3 separate regions of the Homo sapiens genome follow, and all the other regions are linked to region 1. The links are contacts of gene promoters, found by promoter capture Hi-C in human tissues and cell types (Jung and others, 2019). All regions are on one chromosome and are shown on one strand. The core of a region is centred on a gene start or on the middle of the fragment in contact, and the rest is flanking DNA. Distances in the headings are between cores, read along the strand shown.

The links. Contacts are between HindIII fragments. The study calls those that stand out against the background at their distance.
Region 2: the fragment with the promoter of EPOR here is called in contact with the fragment with the promoter of KANK2 in region 1 in 1 of the 25 tissues and cell types used here (dorsolateral prefrontal cortex).
Region 3: a contact is called between a fragment that was not itself captured here and the fragment with the promoter of KANK2 in region 1, in 1 of the 25 tissues and cell types used here (lymphoblastoid cells).

What each region holds. Positions count from the first base shown.
Region 1 is chr19:11,195,832-11,200,506 of GRCh38, forward strand. It overlaps KANK2 (KN motif and ankyrin repeat domains 2), which reads right to left and starts at 1,714. Exons shown (of 13, transcript NM_001136191.3): 1 at 1,654-1,714. DOCK6 (dedicator of cytokinesis 6) reads right to left here. Exons shown (of 48, transcript NM_020812.4): 47 at 4,477-4,638; 48 at 3,464-3,708. The coding sequence ends at 3,666. RefSeq lists a silencer at 1,578-2,197. The HindIII fragment of the contact is 26,033 bases long and covers 1-4,675 here.
Region 2 is chr19:11,382,126-11,387,266 of GRCh38, forward strand. EPOR (erythropoietin receptor) reads right to left here and starts at 2,189. Exons shown (of 8, transcript NM_000121.4): 1 at 1,968-2,189; 2 at 972-1,107. The coding sequence starts at 2,082. RefSeq lists a silencer at 1,429-1,488. The HindIII fragment of the contact is 19,405 bases long and covers 1-5,141 here.
Region 3 is chr19:11,016,350-11,021,490 of GRCh38, forward strand. SMARCA4 (SWI/SNF related BAF chromatin remodeling complex subunit ATPase 4) reads left to right here. Exons shown (of 35, transcript NM_003072.5): 17 at 2,608-2,674; 18 at 3,242-3,352. Among named protein-coding and RNA genes, the nearest start is that of SMARCA4, 58 kb to the left of the region's middle. The HindIII fragment of the contact is 9,794 bases long and covers 1-5,141 here.

The sequences.
Region 1 (4,675 bases), core at 464-2,963:
GGTCACCAATTGCAGGAAATTCCGTTTTCCATTTGCCTGGAGGCTCACCCCTGAGCAACAGAAAGTTGATTGAAAATATTTTCTGGCCACCAAAGAGAGATGGAGAAGCAGGGAGCAAGCGGGATTGGAGCAGGATTGGAATAGCCGAGCGGGGTGGGCTGGGGGTGGGGGAAGTGAGGGTGCTGCTGGGTAAATAGTATAGTAACAGTAATACTAACATCAACTCTTTTTTTTTTTTTTTTCTGAGACGGAGTTTTGCTCTTGTCGCCCAGGCTGGAGTGCAATGGCGCGATCTCAGCTCACGGCAACCTCTGCCTCCCAGGTTCAAGCGATTCTCCTGCCTCAGCCTCCTGAGTAGCTGGGATTACAGGCACCTGCCACCACGCCTAGCTAATTCTGTATTTTTAGTAGAGATGGTGTTTCTCCATGTTGGTCAGGCTGGTCTCGAACTCCTGACCTCAGGTGATCCGCCCGCCTTGGCCTCCCAAAGTGCTGGGATTACAGGCATGAGCCACTGCACCCAGCCTAACATCAACTCTTTTAATTGTCATGACAATTCTATGAGATGGGCACTTATCGCCCCGTTTCACAGACAGGGGATGCAGAGGGTACAGAAAGGTACAGTGGCTTCCTCGGGGTCACTGGGGCCATGGGGAAGTGGCTGGGCCTGAACATGAACCTAAGCCTGGTGGATCCCCCCACTGCCCACCAAGCCACCACCCTCAGACTCCACATCAGATATCTCTACCCGTTTCCCAGATACGGAGACTGAGGTCTGAGGGTACTCAGTCATCTCACCGCCCTCGATGAGGACCAGCACGTCCCGAGTAAGGGGAAGAGAAAGGAGACGAGGGGGTGTGGTGGGGGAGATGGATGTCTGTGGCTGAGACCCTTCTCTCGCCATGGGACCCCTGGGGAATGGGGAAGGGGTGACAGGATAAGACAGAGATGGAGAGACTGGAGCCTATAAGAGGGGACAGGTAGGGAGCGCAGGGAAGGGGCGCGGGTCTCCCCAACCCACCACCCAAGACCGGCCTGCACATCGCGGAGGTCGGTGGTGGTGGTGGGGGGGGGTCTTCCCGCCCCAAACTCGGGGTGGGGGGAGGCGAGAAGGACCCCGCCCCGTGCAGAGAGGGGGCGGGGCCTGTGGGATCCCGGGCTAATGGCAAACAGCTGCCGCTCCCCACGCCGGCCCAGCCGCCAAGCCCAGGCCCAGCCCGGCCGGACGCCCGGCCGCCTTCCCGCCGTCTGGGGCATGGCCGCGGAGGAGGGCGAGGGGGGACAGTGCGGGGAGAGGGCAGAGCCGGGGAGGAACAGAGGCAGAAAGTGGGACAGAGACAGGGGAGAGCGGGCAGAGGGGAGCCAAGACAGGAGAAACGGGCAGGGCACGAGGAATCGATGGGGGGTACTGGGAGGAATCGATGGGGGTATGGGGTCAAAGACGAGGAGGGGGCAGGGACGCGGGGACAGACACTCCAAGTCTGGAAAGTTTGGGCACAGAAGGTGGAGTTGGAGGCAGCGGCTCGTTGAGACCAGCGAGGTCGTGTCCCAGGGTTGGAGGCGGGGGGTAGGGTAGTAGGTGTGTGTGGAGGGGGTGCACACTCGATCCCCGAACCAGACTTGAACCCCTACCCAGCCCCGGGTCCCACTCGCCTTGCGCGCTCCGGCCGCTGCCTTCCCTGGGTCCCGCCGCCCGAGCGTCTTCGCGCGCGCCGCAGCCTGGGCGCCCGGCCCTCGGAGGTGGCTCCGCCCGCACCACGCCCCCTCCGGCTGGTCCCGCCCCCCCAGCCGGCACCGCCCCCTCCAGCCGCCCGGGCGCCCCGGCCGCGGTGGGGGGTGGGGATGGAGAGACGCTGGTTGGAGACTGGATCTCACCTGGACAGCAGGTGTGTGTGCGCGCCGGGGTGTCCGGCCTCGTCCTTCCTTCCTCCCTAAGTCCCCGAGGCAGGGTCCTCCCACTGCCGGCCTCCCCCCCACCGCCTGCTGTCCCTGGGCCGCTGCGGGGGGCGGAACGGCTCGGCGGCGGGAGGGGGTGGAGCTGGCCGGGGCCCAGCTCGGGGAGGGCGCGCGGGGCGGGCGCGGCAGCGGGAGGTCACCCCTCCCCCAGGCGGCCCAGGGCTGGAAGCGGCCCAGCGCAGTCCTGGCACACGGTGGCGTGACCGCCGCGCGAGAAGGGAGGCTGCAGAGTCCTGGGCGCCGGCGCCAGCCAGACCTGCATTCCCATCCCAGACCCACCAAACTTTTGCTGCTCTGTGCCTCAGTTTATTCATCTGTAAAATGGAGATGATCATGTTAGCTACCTGATAGGAGCGTTGAGAAGATTCACTGACCATTAGGAAGGGGCCTAACCATCAGGAAGGAGGCCCTTCGGGTTAAAAACTCTCATAAATGGAGTGGCCTACTTTTGCAGAGATCTTTCTGGGAGCCCTTTTAGTACACAGCCAGCCACTCAGCAAGGGCTTAATAAATATTATTAAGCCGGCGAGGTGGCTCACACCTGTAATCTCAGTGCTTAGGGAGGCCAAGGCAAGAGGACTGCTTGAACTCAGGAGTTCGAGACCAGCCTGGGCAACATAGCAAGACCCTGTCTATGCAAAAAAATTTTTAAGTGAAAAAAAATTAGGCCAGGCGCAGTGGCTCATGCCTGTAATCGTAGCACTTTGGGAGGCCAAGGTGGGCGGATTATTTGAGCCAAGGAGTTGGAGACCAGCTTTGGCAATATGGTAAGACGCCATCTCTACAAAAAACAAAATACAAAAAACCACCTGGGGCCGAGAAATGGCTCATGCCTGTAATCCCAGCACTTTGGGAGTCCGAGGTGGGTGGATCATCTGAGGTCAGGAGTTCAAGACCAGCCTGGCCAACATGGTGAAACCCCTTCTCTACTAAAAATACAAAAACTATCCTGGCATGGTGGTGCACATCTGTAATCCCAGCTACTCGGGAGGCTGAGGTATGAGAATAACTTGAATCTGGGAGGTGGAGGTTGCCGTGAGCCGAGATTGCACCACTGCACTGCAGCCTGGGTGACAGAGTGAAACTCTGTCTAAAAAAAAAAAAAAGAAAAAGAAAAAAAAGCCAGGCACAGTGGCATGTGCCTATAATCTCTGCTACTCAGGAGGCTTGAGCCCCGGAGTTTGAGGCTGCAGTGAGCTATGACTGTGACACTGCATTCCAGCCTGGGGGACTGAGTGAGAGCGTCTGTTAAAAACAAACAAACAAAAACCAGGTATTGTTATTGCAGGTAAGCATGTGACATTATTTGTGTGTTGCCTTCCCTACTAGAACATCAGCTCCACAAGGGCAGGAATTTTTGCCTGTTGTCACCACGATGTCCCTGGCACCCAGTATGTTCTTGGTGTCCCCATTGATGATGCAGGGATGTGTGGATATGGGGCAGTGGACTGTGAGCATGTGATGAGCATGTGACCCAGCCCCTAGTGACCGCACCACATGGCACAGGTTGCTTATAAAAACCATTTTAAATTAAAAAAGGGAGGAAGCATCAGTGCACACAGATGGGGACACAGGGGCAGAGGGCCCAGCCCCAAGTACAGTGTGGTCACCCCACAGCCCAGTGGGCACCAGGGCAGACTCCCCTCGCAGCACAGACAGCTGAGGCCCGGGTGCTGGTTCCTCTAGGTACAGCTTTGGTCCTTGTGGGCTCAGAGGTCTGCCTTTCGGAAACTTGCTCTGTTCAAGGAGTTCCTGGAAAAAGAATGAGGGTGGGTCAGCATGGCCATGGGGCCCCCAACTCCATAGACCTCCCAGCCCACATCCTCTTCCTCCTCCTCCTCGTCTTCCTCCAAGGATCCTTCTGGGATCTCTCCTGTCCCTGATCTGGCTGTGGGATTCTCCGATTCTCTCTTGCAGTCCACCACGGAAGGTATGAATCATCCCCATTTTACAGATGTAGAAACTGAGGCTCAGAAAGATGAATTCATGTATCTGGGAAATGACTGCTCAGAGCCTGCCCTGCCTTTGTACATCTGGATGACATATTCAGATGCTTATGCAAAATTGAAGCCACCGCAGCCAGGCGTGGTGGTGGCTCATGCTGTAATTCCAGCACTTTAGGAGGGCAAAGCGGATGGATCACCTGAGATCAGGAGTTCGAGACCAGTCTGGCCAACATGGTGAAACCCTGTCTCTACTAAAAATACAAAACATTAGCCAGGCGTGGTGGCAGATGCCTGTAATCCCAGTTACTCAGGAGGCTGAGGCAGGAGACTCGCTTGAATCTGGGAGGCGGAGGTTGCAGTGAGCCAAGACTGTGCCAACTGCACTCCAGCCTGGGCAACAGAGGGAGAGTCTCTCAAAAAAAAAAACAAAAAAAAAACCGGAAACAAAACAAAGTCCAAGCTACCAGCAAACATGTTGCTGTGTATGTGTACAACAGCCCCCATCCTGTACCTGTCCTGGTCTGCCTCTGCATCCCCTCTCTAGTCTCTAGGATGGGGGCACTAGGTCAGGCACCTGAGGCCGGGTGGGGTGGGTGCCATCAGCTGGGGCAGGCGCTGGGTAAGCAGGGGCTGCAGAGCCTCCCGCAGGCGGCAGTAGTTGCGCTCCAGCTCACGGTGGTACTCCTTCTGGTCCGGCCCAATCAGGGCCTTATTTTTCCGCAGCGCATCCTCACATCTGAGGGCCAGAGGGTGGGAGATGCTCAGAGACTCGC
Region 2 (5,141 bases), core at 939-3,438, 190 kb after region 1:
GCAGGTTGGGAGGGGGGACCGGGGAGTTGGCATTGCCCGGCCTGTGGGGGGCAGTGTGTATGTGTGACACAAGGTCTAGCCTTGTGTGTGTGTGTGACAAGGTGTTCCTTCGTCGCCCAGGCTGGAGTGCAGTGGCGCGATCATGGCTCACTGCAGCCTCAAATTCTGGGGCTTAAGGGATCCTCCCACCTCAGCTTCCCAAGTAGTTGAGACCACAGGCACGCGCCACGCCTGGCTTTTTTTTTTTTTTTTTTTGAGACGGAGTTTCGCTCTTGTTGCCCAGGCTGGAGTGCAATGGCGCTACCTCGGCTCACCGCAACCTCCGCCTCCCGGGTTCAAGCGATTCTCCTGCCTCAGCCTCCCGAGTAGCTGGGATCACAGGCATGCGCCACCACGCCCGGCTAATTTTGTATTTTTAGTAGAGATAGAGTTTCTCCATGTTGGCCAGGCTGGTCTCAAACTCCCGACCTCAGGTGATCCGCCCGCCTCAGCCTCCCAAAGTGCTGGGATTACAGGCGTGAGCCACCGCGCCCAGTCTAATTTTTTTTTAAGAGACGGGGATCTCGCTGTGTTGCCCAGGCTGGTCTTGAACTCCTGGGCTCAAGCGGTTCTTCCGCCTCGACCTTCCAAAGAGTTGGGATTACAGGCATGAGCCACTGCTGGCCTCCTTTTGGATACTACCTCGAGAAGGCGTCCCAGCCCCGACGTAGTAACGCCTTACCCTCGATTTGGAGGCGTTGTTATCCCAGCCTGATGTTTGGGGTCGCGTTCCAGCGGTGATCGCGGGAGTGTTCGCGCCCCGGCCCATAGAGGGCGTGCCAGCCCTGGACCCGCAGGTTTCCCTCCAGTGACCACGACTGGAGGCGCCGTCGGGCCTCAAACAGCAGGGGACATACGAGGCTACGACCTCCAGGGAGCTCTGCCCCACCCCCTCCCTCCGCCCTTGGAGGCACCCGCCGGATCGGACTCACTCGAGCTGGTAGGAGAAGCTGTAGTTGCCCGGGCCCACCCCAGCGCTCGCCGCTTCCTCCCAGAAACACACCAAGTCCTCCAACCGCTCGGTGAAGCACAGAAGCTCTTCGGGCCCCCGGGCCGCCAGCAAGGCCGCTGGGGAGGGGCGACAAAGGAAGGGCATGGGGGTCTGAGCTCTATCCTCGGGAGACAGCCCCCTCCTCTTCCCTCCCGCAGCCTGGGCGGACCCGATAAGAAAAAAGCCCCGCCCTGCCATCTTCCCAAGCGGGTCCCTTGGAGGGGTCCGCAGAGGTGGTGCCCCCCTAATTCCCAGGGGCAAGTTTCTCGCCTTACTGTCCCCCGCCGTCACCACTGGCGCACACCTGCCCACCCAGCGGCCAGCTGAGCTGGGCGCGGCGTTCAAGACCTCGAGCTCGGGACTGCCAGCCCCGCCCCAGCCTAGGACACGCGCGCGGCTGGGGGTGTGTGCGGAGAGGCGGGCCCCCTATCGGCCCCGGCAGGCTCCCCGCCAACCGATAGCGCCAACCGTGCCCCCCGCCTCCCTCCCTCCACCGGGCCGGGCAAGTGATCTGGCGCCCTCACACAAACCGTGTTTACAGTAGCCTGTGGCTTGGCCCCTCTAACTCGGACCCGGGCTTTACCCTCCCTCCCCTAGGGAGGGTCGGCTTGGTCCCCACCCCCCAGGGACCTTAGCACCAAGTCAGCCCCCTTAGGATTTAGCATGTCCCAGACTCCCTGAAAAGGTAAAACGGGAATGTTAAGCCCACTCTAGCTCTTGCCCGGGACGCGATCAGGAGTCTTGGATCCTAACATACCCCACCCCGCCCCCCACCCATCCAGGACCCAGTCTAAGGGTTCAGATGCCAGCTTGGCCCCCAGGACCCGGTCAGGAAGTCCAGAAACAGGCATGGCCCCCAGGACCTAGGCTGGGAGTTCAGGCCCCAGCATGGTCCTGCAGGCTCCAGCGTAGGGGTCCACACGCAGCTCATCCTTACCTTTGCTCTCGAACTTGGGGTCCGGGAGGTTAGGCGGGGGCGCCCAGGCGGCCCCAGCGAGCAGGAGACAAAGGGAGCCGACCTGGGGCCAGAGGGACGCCCCGAGGTGGTCCATGATACAGCCCCCGCCACGGGGAGCCCAGGGCTCCTGCCCCTCCGTCCCCCGCCCCCGGCACAGTCCACAGCTGGGTCAGCAGCTGCCTCCGCCGGACGCAGCTGACCAGGCCCTTCCCGACCAGGCGCCTCTAAGTGGCAGATCCCCGAGGGGGCGGGGCCAGCACTCAGCCTGGGTAGAGATAAGTGCCTGGCGGGAGGAGGCAGGGGCCCTTCCCGAGCCCAGAGGCCGCTTGGGGGCAGGGGAGGGAGTTGGGCCGCAACAGCTCCCGTTCTGGCTTCAGACACACGTTTTTTTTTTCTTTGTGGCCCTGGACAGGTGACTTACCTTACCTGAGCTTCAGACTTCTCATCTGTAAAATCTAGCCTGGCACATAGCGAACATTCCAAAAAATGTACCTACTGATTTTATCGCAGAAATCAGCATCTCTTCCCAGCCTGGAAATAAATAAAAATTATTTTCTCTCTCTCTCTCTCTCTCTCTCTCTCTCTCTCTCCTTTCCTTCCTTCCTTCCTTCCTTCCTTCCTTCCTTCCTTCCTTCCTTCCTTCCCTCCTTCCCTCCTTCCCCCTCTCTCTCTCTGTCTCAGGGTGTTGCTCTGTCACCCAGGCTGGAGTGCAGTGGCACAATCATAGCTCACTGCAGCCTCTGGACTGAAGCAATCTTCCCACTGCACCTGGCTAATTTTTAAAATTCTTTGTAGAGATGGGATCCCACTATGTTGTCCAGGCTGGTCTTGAAATCCCGGACTTAAGCAATCCTCCAGCCTCCATCTCCCAATGTGCTGGGAATACCAGCACGAGCCACTGAAGCCGGCCAATAATAATCCTTGCAACGACCAGCAGTTGAGTGTTTGCACAGTGCTAGGCCATGCTCCTGGGCAGTATGCATAATATGTGAGATTTTCATTTACGAATTTTTGGGAAAAAAATTTTTACCACCCACATTTTTATTCTCTTGGGCTGGGCCCGGTGGCTCACGCCTATAATCCCAGCACTTTGGGAGGCCGACGTGGGCAAATCACTTGAGGTCAGGAGTTTGAGACCAGCCTGGCCAACATGGTGAAATCCCATCTCTACTAAAAATACAAAAATTAGCCAGGTGTGGTGGCGTGTGCCTGTAATCCCAGCTACTCAGGAGGCTGAGGCATGAGAACTGCTTCAGTCTGGGAGATGAAGATTGCAGTGAGCCAAGATCATGCCACTGCAACTCCAGCCTGGGCAACAGAGTGAGACTGCATCTCAAAAAATAATAATAATTGGCTGGGCGCGGTGGCTCATACCTGTAATCCCAACACTTTGGGAGGCCGAGACAGGCGGATCATGAGGTCAGGAGTTCGAGACCAGCCTGGGCAACATGGCGAAACCACGTCTCTACTAAAAATACAAAAATTAGCCAGGCGTAGGCCGGGCGCGGTGGCTCACGCCTGTAATCCCAGCACTTTGGGAGGCCGAGGTGGGCAGATCACGAGGTCAAGAGATCAAGACCATCCTGGCCAACATGGTAAAACCCCATCTCTACCAAAAATACAAAAATTAGATGGGCGTGGTGCTGCATGCCTGTAATCCCAGCTACTTGGGAGGCTGCAGGAGAATCGCTTGAACCCAGGAGCCGGAGGTTTCAGTGAGCCGATATTGTGCCACTGCACTCCAGCCTGGTGACAGAGCGGGACTCCGTCTCAAAAAATATATATATATATTCGAGCGTGGTGGTGGGTGCCTGTAATCCCAGCTACTCAGGAGGCTGAGGCAGGAGAATTGCTTGAAACCAGAAGGCAGAGGTTGCAGTGAGCTGAGATCACACCATTGCACTCCAGGCTGTGCAACAAGATTGAAACTCTGTTTCAAAAAAATAAATAAATAGTCCATGCACAGTGGCTCATGCCTGTAATCCCAGCACTTTGGGAGGCCGAGGTGGGTGGATCACAAGGTCAGGAGATCGAGACCATCCTGGCTAACACAGTGAAACCCTGTCTTTACTAAAAATAGAAAAAATTAGCCGGGCGTGGTGGCGGGTGCCTGTAGTCCCAGCTACTCGGGAGGCTGAGGCAGGAGAATGGTGTGAACCCAGTGGGTGGAGCTTGCAGTGAGCCAAGATTGTGCCACTGCACTCCAGCCTGGGCAACAGAGCGAGACTCCGTCTCAAAAAAATAAATAAATAAAATAAATAAATAAATATAAATAAATATAAATAAAATAAAATGGCAATACTCCTACCCTGTTTCTATTAAGCAGGTGGGTTTTTTGTTTTTGTTTGTAGCCAATGTGCTTATTGTCACCTGACATGTATTTGATGTTTTGTTATTGATTCGCTGCCCTTACTATTCCATGAAAGCAGGTTTTTTTTTTTTTTTTTAGATGGTGTCTTGCTCTGTTGCCCATGTTGGAGTGCAATGGCACAATCTTGGCTCACTGCAGCCTTCGCCTCCTGGATTCAAGCGATTCTCCTTCCTCAGACTCCAGGGTAGTTGGGACTACAGGTGTGTGCCACCACACCCAGCTAATTTTTGTAGTTTTAGTTGAAACGGGGTTTTGCTGTGTTGGCCAGGCTTGTCTTGAGCTCCTGACCTCAAGTGATCCCCCCGCCTCAGCCTCCCAAAGTGCTGGGATTACTGGCATGAGTCACTGAGCCCGGCCAGGGATTGATTGATTGATTGATTGATTGATTTGTGGAGTCTTGCTCTTGTTGCCCAGGCTGCAGTACAATGGCATGATCTTGGTTTACTGCAACCTCCGCCTCCTGGGTTCAAGTGATTCTCCTGCCTCTGCCTCCCGGGTAGCTGGGATTACAGGCACCCGCCACCATGCCCGGCTATTTTTTTGTATTTTTAGTAGAGACGGGGTTTCGCCATGTTGGCCAGGCTGGTCTCGAACTCCTGACTTTGTGACCCGCCCGCCTTGGCCTCCCAAAGTGCTGGGATTACAGGCATGAGCCACCGCGCCCAGCCTCAGGCAGGGATTTTTTTTTACCCTTTTGTTCTTTGCTGTATCCCTAGCATATAGAACAGGGCCTGGAGCACAGTAGAAGCTCAAGAAATATTTTGTGGAGTAAAAGATTAGAG
Region 3 (5,141 bases), core at 1,298-3,797, 180 kb before region 1:
ATGAGGTTTGGAGGTGCCAGATACCCAAACTATAGCAGCAAACGTCAGATAAGTCTTGCCTGAAAAAATAATTACATGAGAGTTGCCAAATACATGGTTACCTGTTTCTGTCCGCTCTTCTCTACAAATTAATTGGAATTCCACCGTTAGGAAGAGCTTTCCCGTCTCCCCCATGTGCTTGTTTGGGTAATTATTATATCAGTGTGGGCGTGAACAAATATTATTTATTTTGTTGCTTCAGTTTTTTTCAGATTTGGCCTGGGAGAATTCTCCCTGGAAGAATTGTGTCTTCTCTATGTATTCAGTCATTTGTTAATATGAGTATGGACCCACGGATATTTATTTAGTACTCCAGGCTACGCACCAGTGGCTGGGTTTTTTTTGTTTTGTGGCTCAAATCCATCCAGCTTTGGCCACTGGGAGTGCTTTCAGTTGGCTCTTCTGTCCTTTGACACGCCCCCAGCATCGGGTGAATTTTGAGGACTTTCTTGCTTTTTGGCACCAAGAGATGCTGCAGGCTCATGTAGTCTATTTCCCGCCCACTCCCTCAAATCAGCCATTTCTCCAAGGAGCCCTGGTTTCCCTTCTTACAGAATGGTTTTGGGAACCAAGACCTGGGTCCTGGATGGGCCTGTTGCTTCTGGGGTGTCATTGCTCCTGGGGCCCTCTCAGTGGTCAGTGCTAGGAGATTCATGTGCGCGTGCTGATGCTTTGTGCACGTATCGTCTAAAAGGCCTTCTCTGCCTCGGCATCTGTTTCTGTGTTAAGCTGAACGTGAGTTCATACCACTGTCTGCGGCTCTGAGTGAGGACCACAGGTTCCTTCTCACACTTCCACCCTGTGTGTGCGCCCATTCTCAGCTTCCGTGGACAACAGTTTCAGAGTAGTGAGCCGGTACCTCCGGGAAGCATCTTGAGCCACTAGAGCGCAGGCCTTGGGGCCAGTTCCTTGTGTGTTCAGACCTCCAGATTGCAGTCAGATTCCATTTCCAGGGTGATAGAGGTCACCTTCTTCCCCTACTTCAGTGAGGTTGTGAGGTGGGTGCTCCTGCAGTCTTTCCCACTGCGCCCCACCTGGGCAAGCGTCCATGCTGTGGAACGCCAGCTCCTGCAGGCCAGAAGAGGGCCCGCGCGCTAGGAAATGTTTACGGCGTATGGGCATCCGGCTGTGCCGGCCCTCTCACTGGGAATTGCTGCCTCCTGCCATGAGCTGCTTGTCCTGCCTCCGTTTGGACCTCTGTCTCTGGGACCTGTCCCCTCAGTCCCCTCCTGACCCTTGCTCCTGGCTCTTCTCCCTCCCAGTGCAGATGCTCCGCACACCTCCGGCTTCTCCCTTGGTGCGCTGACTGTCCCCATCACTCCAGGGAGGTTTCACTGTTCCTGAGTCAGCGGAAGCACAGGGTCAGGCCCTACGGGCCAGGTCCGGTGGCTCCAAGATGCCATCAGGGACCCAGCCTCCCCCAGGTTTCTGCCCAGTCATTCTTGGGTGACTCCAACCCTCAGGCTCCTTACCTCATGGTTGCAGGACGGCTGCACTGCCTCCCTCGCCTCATGCAGGAGAGTGGGCAGGAAAGAGTTCTAGGAGAGTGGGCAGGGCAAAAGGCAGCAGAAGCGCAAGGCTGCTGAGCCTCTGCTCCCCACGCTTCTTCAGGAACTCTCCCCAGCCTTCACCACAGCCATGCGTCCTTCTGTCTATTGGCTGTGCCGCCTGGTTGGCTGTGGCTTCCAGCGGGGCTGGAGATGGGTTCATGGTGGACACAGCACCTCCCTCGTGGAGCTGCTTGGGGGCAAACCACGAGTAGTCCCTGGGACTCCAGCTTCGAGCCCTGTCTTTACGGACCACCCCGTCTAGACTTTCTGAGTGGCTTCCCTCCCCCACTGAAAACTCCCTGCCCCAGAGTTCCTCCCAGAGCCCGTCCCCTTTGGGACTCAGCTTTATTACCGCCTCCACCCTCTCCTCAGTCTCTAGGCTGTCGGTCTCAGGTGACTCACCCCTCCCCACTGCATTCTGCCTGCCCCCATGTCCTCCCTCATTCCAGCCCTGGTCATCCCACAGGGGAACAGCCACGAGTTGCCGCTCCCTCCCATCCCTGTCCTCCCGCCTGCCACCTGAGCCAGGCCCCGCCTCGCCCCTCACTGTCCTCGTTCTCTCTCACAGTCAGGAACCTTCCGTGGCTGGAGGGTGGCAGAAAGACTGTTTGGTGTCTCCTATATCCTCAGGTCTCCACAGCACTGTTGCTAGCCTGGCTCTGGGCGTGAAGCCTGTGCTCTGAAGCTGCATTTTCCCGGCAGCAGGTCCAGGCTTCCCCAGCCCTGGCAGCATTGTTTCTGTCCCCCATCACATCTCTGTGTCCCTACTTCTCACTCTAAAGGGCCTTGCCCTCTTTTCCCAGTGGCCTCCCTTCTGTCCTCTGAGGCAGAGCCCTTCACGTCCTCGCCAGTCTCTCTTCCTCCCTCCCTCCCTCAGCTGCCCTAAACACAGTTTCTCTGCCCACTCGGAGGGCTGTGGCCATGTTGGCCTCGCCCCTGACAGCCAGTGGCTATGGGTTTGCACAGTGAGCCATTGATGAGAGACCGGCACTTGACTCTCATTTCCTTGTTCCATCAGAACGCTGTCCAACTGGGCGTACGAGTTTGACAAGTGGGCCCCCTCCGTGGTGAAGGTGTCTTACAAGGTAGGTCACAGCCACTGAGGTTTCCTCTCTTGCTACGGAGGTGCAGGCGGTGGTGGGCAGGACGTCCACACATACCTCTGGACAGTGAACCTGAGAATGCTGGGTCTCCAGTCGCATGGAGTCTCCAGGACAGCCTGGAACTCCAGTCACATGGATCCGGGAGTTTGGACTGGGCAGGGACAGGGCAGATTAGCTCACTGGGGAGGAGACAGGAGTGAGCATGGTGGCCAGCACTCAGAGGCCAGCTCAGGCGCCTGAGATGGGGACCCAGGAAGAGGGGAGCCTGTCAGCCACCAGGAATGTGCAGATGGCGGTGCAGGCTGCGTGGTTCCCTCAGGCCCCGGCCGCCGCTGGCCTGCACTGCTTCCTCTTCCCCCTGCAGCGCGTGTTCTGCGTGGTGAGGTCTGGGGACGCGCCAGCGGCCCTGCCAGCCCCTTTCCCCACTACCCCTGTGAGGACGAGCCCTCCCGCCGTGTCACTGGGCAGTTGCAGGGGGTGCCTGTGCCCCTCTTGCCACCTGGCCACCCGGCTCCAAAAGCCGAGCTGTGCATCCTGCTTCCCTTGCAGGGATCCCCAGCAGCAAGACGGGCCTTTGTCCCCCAGCTCCGGAGTGGGAAGTTCAACGTCTTGCTGACGACGTACGAGTACATCATCAAAGACAAGCACATCCTCGCCAAGGTAACGTGTCCCTGTGGGAAATGCCAGGCCATGGGCCGAGTGCTCACACGTGGGTCACGCTGCCCGTCTCCTCCAAAGCCCCTACAAGTTTCTTCCCGGAGTCCCACCTGCATGTGCGTGAAGACAGCTGCCCTGTGTAGGGGAAAGGCCTAGGTGGGGGCGACCTCAGGTTTACCTCCCTAACTGTCTCCAGGCAGGCCCTGAGTCAGGCCCAGAAGCTGGGGCCATCTACACAGCATGCGCTCTGCCTCCTCTCGGGCCTTCTGCCCAGAGAGCCTCAGCACCAAGGCGTCTCCTGACCCGCCTACAGAGTCCCCATGGGGCCTTGGCCAGACCAGTCTTGTCCTCCTGTCTCATTGCCTTGGCCGTCCCTCCCTGGGGCCCTGGCTTCTCACCACAGGCCATGGGCTGAGATTCAGCATGTGGGGGAGAGCTCGAGGGCCAAATACCATGACTGCCTGCTGGCCTTGGGCAGCTGGTTCGGGCTGTTCTGTGAGGGTCCTACTGTCCTGGAAGCCTCTTCTGGGACGAAACTGTGAAGGGAGTCCCAGCGTGGCCATGACTGAGAATACGGCCCAGATAGAAAACAGACATAGCCCTCTGCCTCCAAAAACTCATGTTCCTCATTTGAGGAGGGGTAAAGATGTACCTGGTCTCACCCCTAAACATCCAGCTGAGTGAGTGTTGAACAGTAGAGAGTTTTTTGCGTTTTGGTTTTTTTTTTTTTGAGACCGAGTCTCGCTCTGTTGCCCATGCTGGAGTGCAGTGATGTGATCACAGCTCACTGCAGGCCTGACCTCCTGGCCTCAAGCGATCCTCCCACCTCACCCTCCTGAGTAGCTGGGACTACAGGTGTGCGCCACCACTCCCAGCTAACTTTTTTAAATTTATTTTTTATGGAGATGGGGTCTTGCTGTACTGCCCAGGCTGGTCTCAAACTCCTGGCCTCAAGGAATCCTCTCGCCTTGGCCTCACAAAGCACTGGGCAACTGTGTCTGGCCTAACAGTAGAGTTCTTGACCCAGGTATGGGGGGATGGAGGAGCTGTTTATGGGTGGCTCCGCCTCTCAGTGCATGGCTGGAGTGACAGTACTGGAATACTGGGGCTGTGAACTGGGTGTTTTCTTTTCTTTTTCTCTTCTTTTTTTTTTTTATTGAGACAGAGTCTCACAGCTGTCACCCAGGCTGGAGTGCAGTGGAGCGATCTCAGCTCACTGCAACAACCTCTGCCTCCTGGGTTCAAGTGATTCTCCTGCCTCAGCCTTCCGAGGACTGGGTGCTTTATCCCGGAGCCAACAAGGGAGGAAACTGAGGCCCAGGGAGCTGGGTATCCCACGTGCAGGCTCTTACCTCAGGTCCATGCTTCAGGTGCCTCCTTTGTGGCTCACCCCTGCTGACTCCTTACAAAGCCAGGCCGTTGGCAGGCACAGGAACCAGGCTCTGAAACCCCGTGCTCCCCTGCCAGTGGCTCAGTTGATGTAATCACCCTGCAGTGGGAGTGCTCTTTGAGTGCGGCCACTGCGCCCCCTCCCGACCCGCATGGCCCTGTATGTAGTGGCGCTGGCCCCTACCCCATGGGGCCCACATTCTGAACCACAGGCTGCTCATTAGAAATGTACCGTCACCAACCCAGTTCCCCTGAGACCCTCCACACCAGCAGGACAAGTCCCCCAGTCAGCAAGATGTGTCTTCTGCCAGAACGTGCTCGGCATTTTTCTGTGCTGTAGATTCATATGTGTGATTTTGCAGGGAAGCCAGATTGCTTTTTTGCAATTTGCATTGTTCACCTG